Linked DNA regions of Homo sapiens: region 1 is linked to region 2. Evidence: promoter capture Hi-C in human tissues and cell types (Jung and others, 2019). All regions are on one chromosome and are shown on one strand. The core of a region is centred on a gene start or on the middle of the fragment in contact, and the rest is flanking DNA. Distances in the headings are between cores, read along the strand shown.

What was found. The method cuts DNA at HindIII sites, captures the fragments that hold promoters and counts their contacts. A contact is called where the count stands out against the background at its distance.
Region 1: a fragment that was not itself captured here is called in contact with the fragment with the promoter of ARMC3 in region 2 in 1 of the 25 tissues and cell types used here (dorsolateral prefrontal cortex).

Annotation. Positions count from the first base shown.
Region 1 is chr10:21,580,570-21,583,775 of GRCh38, reverse strand. All of the region lies in intron 3 of MLLT10 (MLLT10 histone lysine methyltransferase DOT1L cofactor), which reads right to left. It also overlaps the pseudogene LOC100422524. Among named protein-coding and RNA genes, the nearest start is that of MLLT10, 48 kb to the right of the region's middle. The HindIII fragment of the contact is 5,411 bases long and covers 1-3,206 here.
Region 2 is chr10:22,926,668-22,929,729 of GRCh38, reverse strand. It overlaps ARMC3 (armadillo repeat containing 3), which reads right to left and starts at 1,677. Exons shown (of 19, transcript NM_173081.5): 1 at 1,624-1,677. The HindIII fragment of the contact is 8,735 bases long and covers 1-3,062 here.

The sequences.
Region 1 (3,206 bases), core at 465-2,964, 1.3 Mb after region 2:
GTAATGGGGGCAGATCCCTCATGAATGTCTTGGTGTTTTCCCTGTGGTAATGAGTGAGTTTCTTGCTGTTGTTAGCTCATGTGAGATCTGATTGGTAAAAAGAGCCTGCCACCTTGCTCCCTTCTCTCACCATGTGACACTCCTGGTCCCCATTCCCACTGCCCCATGAGTAAAAGTTTCCTCAGCCCAAAGATGTTGGTGGTATACTTGTACAGCCTACAGAACTGTGAACCAAATAAACCTCTTTTCTTTATATTAATAATCTACCCAGTTTCAGGTATTCCTTTAACCTGAAACAGGCTAATACCACTATACTTCTTGCCTTTCAGTATTTCACTCTCCTGATTTTCCTATTACCTCTTTGGCAGCACCTTTCTGATCACCCTATCAAACCTTTAAATGGTGAAATTCCTCAGGGCTCTGGCCTAAGATGTCATCTTATTTCACATGAAACACTAGGCAATCTTACTCATTGTCCAAATTTCCATTACCAACTAAATTATAAAAATGTAACAGTGACTCCCAAATTTTATCTATTTGTATCTGTCCTCAGGTTCAGGTATAAAACTCTATATGCTACATAAACACTTTATTTTATTTTATTTTGAGATGGAGTCTCACTCTGTTGCCCAGGCTGGAGTGCAGTGGCTCAATCTCGGCTCACTGCAACCTCCAGCTCCAGAGTTCAAGCAATTCTCCTGCCTCAGCCTCCCAAGGAGCTGCAATTACAGGTGTGTGCCACCACGTCCAGCTAACTTTTTCTATTTTTAGTAGAAATAGGGTTTCGTCATGTTGCCCAGGTTGGTCTCAAACTCCTGGCCTCAAGTGATCCACTCACCTCAGCCTCCTAAAGTGCTAGGATTACAGTGAGCCACCTCACCCAGCCTACATAGACACTTGAAACGCTCCACAATTTATGACAAAATCTGCTCTTCCTGCTCTTTTCATATACTGGTAATGATATTTTCAATGACACATTGCTCACGCAAGACACCTAGTATACGTCATCTTTGACCACTTCATGCCTCACTCCCTAATCTCACTTTTAATCCATAACTGTATTGTGCCCTTCCTCTTCCTAAATACTGGTGAGATCTGCCTCTCTCTCTCCATCTCCACTATTACCCTACTTAAAGCAAGCATCACCTTTCATCAGGACCACTTCAGTCACCTCCTAAATGCAGTAGTCCCCCAGTTATCCATGGGAGAAACATTCTAAGAACCCCAGTGGATGTCTGAAACAACAAATGGTACTGAGCACTTGATTCTGTTTTTTGCTATACATACATACCTATAAAAAGTTTAATTTATAAATTAGGCACAGTAACAGATTAACAACAACAATAAAATAGAACAGGCTGGGTGTAGTGGCTCACACCTATAATCCCAGGATTTTGGGAGGCTGAGGCGGGCAGATCACCTGAGGTCAGGAGTTCGAGACCAGCCTGGCCAACATGGTGAAACCCTATCTCTACTAAAAACACAAAAAAATTAGCTGCATGTGGTGGCACGTGCCTGCAGTCCCAGCTAAGCAGGAGGCTAAGGCACAAAAATCGATTGAACCTAGGAGACTGCAGTGAGCCAAGATCGTTCCACTGCACTCCAGCCTGGGCAACAGAGAAAGAGACTCCACCTCAAAAAATTTTTAAAAATTAAAAAAAAAAAATAACAATGTACTATAAGAAAAGCTATATGAATGTGGTCTCTCTCAAAATGCAGTCTGCATAACAACAACCACATATACAGTGGTGGTCCCATGAGATTAAATGGAACTAAAAAATTCCTATTGCCTAGTGACGTAATGATGTAATAGCCATAGTAACATGACAGAGCAATTTTTAAAATAAATTTAGTGTACATTAAGTGTACAATGTTTATAAAGTCTATAGTAGTTGTAGCAGTCCATTCTCTCACTGCTATAAAGAACTACCTGAGACTGGGCAATTTATAAAGAAAAGAGGCTTAATTGACTCACAGTTCCACATGGCTGAGGAGGCCTCAGGAAACTTTCAATCATCACAGGAGGGGAAGCAAGCACATCTTACATAGCAGCAAGCAAGAGAAAGAGAATGTGTACATAGGAAAAAACTGCCACTTTCAAAACCATCAGACCGCAAGAGAATTCACTCGCTATCATGAGAACAGGATGGGGGAAACTGCCCCCATTATCCAGTCACCTCCCTCCTTCAACACATAGGGATTACAATTCGAGATGAGATTTCAGTGGGGATACACAGCCAAACCCTATCAGTAGTGTACAAAAATGTCCCAGGCTTTCACATTCACTCACCACTTACTCACTGACTCACCCAGAGCAACTTCTAGTCCTGTAAGCTTCATTCATGGTAAAGCCCTATACAAGTGCATTTTTTAAAATCTTTCATACCATTATTTTAGCTGTACCTTTTCTATGTTTAAAAACACAAATATGGCTGGGCGCAGTGGCTCACGCCTGTAATCTCAGCACTTTGGGAGGCCGAGGCAGGCAATCACGAGGTCAGGAGATCGAGACCATCCTGGCTAACACGGTGAAACCCCGTCTCTACTAAAAGTACAAAAAAAATAAGCCAGGTGTGATAGTGGGCGCCTGTAGTCCCAGCTACTAGGGAGGCTGAGGCAGGAGGATGGTGTGAACCCGGGAAGCAGAGCTTGCAGTGAGCCGAGATCGTGCCACTGCACTCTAGCCTGGGCTACAGAGCAAGACTCCGTCTCAAAAAAAAAAAAAAAAAAATTCACTGAACATTAAAAGAAAATACACAAAATAGGCTGGACACAGTGTCTCACGCCTGTAATTCTAACACTTTGGGAAGCCAATGCAGGCAGATCATGAGGTCAGGAGTTCGAGACCAGCCTAGCCAACATAGTGAAACTCCGTCTCTACTAAAAAAAAAAAAAAAAAAAAAAAAATGAGCTGGGCGTGGTGGTGTGCACCTGTAATCCCAACTACTCGGGAGGCTGGGGCAGGAGAATTCCATGAACCCAGGAGGCAGAGGTTTCAGTGAGTCAAGATCGCGCCATTGCATTCCAGCCCAGGCGACAGTGCAAGACTCTGTCTCAAAAAAAAAGAAAAGAAAATACACAAAATAGGACGGGTGTGGAGGCTCACGCCTGTAATCCCAGCACCTTGGGAGGCCGAGGCAGGCAGATCACGAGGTCAGGAGATCGAGACCATCCTGGCTAACACAGTGAAACCCCGTCTCTACTAA
Region 2 (3,062 bases), core at 428-2,927:
AAAATACAAAAATTAGCCTGGAGTGGCGGTGGCATGTGCCTGCATTCCCAGCTACTGGGGAGGCTGAGGCAGGAGAATTGCTTGAGGCCGGGAGGCGGAGGTTGCAATAAGCTGAGATCACCCCATTGCACTCCAGCCTGGGTGACAGAGCGAGACTCTGTCTCCTCCCCCAAAAAAAGCCTATGTGTTTTATCACCATATTGGGTATGATAGTTAATGGAGGAGAGACTGAACAGCTGACATAGGTCGGTGGCAATGAGCTATGGAGATGATCCTTACAAGGGTAATACATTTCACTGTGGAGAATTTGGAAAACAAGGGCACAACGAATAAAATAAAAATCACCCAAAGATAAGCTCAGAGAGATCAATACTATTTCTTTTCTTTTCCTTTCCTTTCCTTTCCTTTCCTTTCTTTTTCTTTTTCTTTCTCTTTCTCTCTCTCTTTCTCTCTCTCTCTCTCCCTCTCTCTCTCTCTTCTCTTTTTTTCTTTTTCTTTTTCTTTTTTGAGACAGAGTCTCACTCTGTTGCCCAGGCTGGAGAGTGGCCTGATCTTGGCTCATTGCAACCTCCACCTCCCAGGTTTAAGAGATTCTCCTGCCTCAGCCTCCTGAGTAGCTGGGATTACAGGTACCCGCCACCACGCTCGGCTAATTTTTGTATTTTCAGTAGAGACAGGTTTCCCCACATTGACCAGGTTGGTCTCGAACTCCTGACTTCAGGCGATCCACCCGCCTCAGCCTCCCAAAGTGCTGGGGTTGTAGGCGTGAGCCACCGTACCTGGCTTTGTGTGTTTTTCTAAAGTGATTTTAACATCCTGCCTCAACTTCTATCCCCTACTTTCACCTTCCCTTCCTGGGTTCATATTCCTACTAAATTCTTATATTAACAAATAAATTCATGAAGTCTCAGTTTCCCTTCATTGCTTTAATAATCTCCAGTGGATTAGCATAACATGCCATTACAAATATTTTAAAATCCCTTAGCTATCTAGCCAGTCTCTGATTGTTGAAATTTGTTTCTAATTTTCTGGAAATATGGACAGGGCTGAAAGAACGTCCTTGGACATAAAATTTTCATCCATTATCCCCAACTATTTCTTTAGGATAAATCTCTAGCAGTAAATTAACTGGGTGAAAACTTCAGGGCATTGGATATGCAAACAACTCTGCTCTAAAAATGCATCTTCTTGACTACTGGAGCCATTTTTTTTTTCACGAGTTGATTGGTCCTTTGTATTTGTTCTTCGTGAACGTTCAGCCTATGATTTTAAATATTTTCTAATGAGTTCTGCTTTGAGAAGATTTAAAGAGGAGGAGGGCTCAAGAAATCGAGGCCACTTCTGAGTTGCTCACAGTCAAGTAACGGAATCTGACTTGATCTCACCTCAGATCCCCTCTCGGGCCTCAGTTTTGTCACCTGTTGAATGGGAGGTGGCGGGATGCTTACGAAACCCACCCCAAGCCCCGTCTAACCCTGCGGGCGCGAGGCAGAAACTAACAACGCCCAGCAAGGTGTTGCCTCACTGACCCAAGCAGTCTGCGCCCACGTGGCACCTTCTCCTTTCCCAGGTTTTCCTCAGGCCTCTGCCTTGGGCCTCCCCACCCCACGGGGTTACCTTTACCTGCCGGGAGATCCCGCCGAGTAGCTAGCTGCTCCGCAAACCCAGCAGACGAACCCCCAGTCCCTTGTTGTGCCTCGTTGCTAGGCGACGCCACGCCGCGCCGCGCCTGCGCCCTGGGAACGCTCGGGGCTGCTAGGGCGCCCATTGTCCCGCCGAGGGCAGCGGCCAGTGCGGGAGGAGCCAAGTGCGTCCGCGATTACCTGAATCCAGTGCTTTAGGGGAGAATGGAAACTGGGGGTGGAAGCTGTAAATCAAGAGGCAGTTCAGCCTCAGTTTCTGGCCCAAGGACTGGCTGTGGGTTCAAATACGCAAATACTATTGCATTCTTCCAAATAGAGGCGTCAGCCGGAATCTCTATGCAGATGAAACCCACATCAGCCACCTCCTGCCCAGGCTCCGTTAAGCTGCAGACCTGCACTGCCACATCTCTTTGCACTAGGATGTCCAATCCGTTTCCACAGAACTTCTCATGGCCCTTCAAAGCCCCGTTCTCTTCCTCTTTCTTTCCTCTTCCTGCCATTCTTCCAATTGCCTAGACTCAGAAGGAGCTTCAATTTCCCTTCTTCCTCCCATGCCCCCCAACCACAGTCATCACTTCAGCCACTTCTTGGCGGCTTACATTTTGTTTCCTGCTTGTTCCCTTTCTCATATCCTTATTGTCACTTCAATCCAGCTCGTCATTTTTTGGCCTTCTGGCTGAGAAATTCAGTTGCTCTCTGCTTACAGTTCTTTCTACGTATCACAGGCAAATCGGCCATCCAGAAATCATCGTTCCAGTCTTGTCACTTCCCTACTCAAATGTCAGCGGCTTCCTAAGATAAATTTTCAACACATTGGCCTGGAATTTAAGACCGTCTGCTCCATCTCTACTCCATCTGTGCAACCACATTTTCAACCGATCTCCACCATCCAAGCTCCAGCCAAACTTACTGTTCCCGAAATTTTCCACACTTTTCTCTAGATTTTCTTGCTTATCTGTTCATCACTTCATTTTTCAACAAATATTTATAAAGTAGCTTCTATTTCCCAGGTCATGTGCAATACCTGAAATATTCTCTCATTTCCACTTAATTAAGCCCAGCTCAAATGCCATCTTCATAAAATATTTTTTGATTGCCTTTAGCAAAAAGTCTCTCCCTCTCCTCTTAGACTTTGCAAATTCCGTCTCCTACCGGCCCCTGTTGGTCTCCCAGTCCTAAGAATGATAGATGCTTCTTATAATTGCTACTTTTATATATCTTATGTTCTCTTCTCACCATTTAAATTGCCTGATAAACAGCTTTATAACAATTATTTGTATTCAGTTTTCCATGGTCAAATATCCGGTGTGACTTCTGTATAGAAAAGATCTTAAGTAATGGTCATGAAAGTAGGAAAAGGATTAAGACCAAGTAGCATCAAGGAAACTAAGGAGGGAGTTTCAAGAATATAAGCGTCAT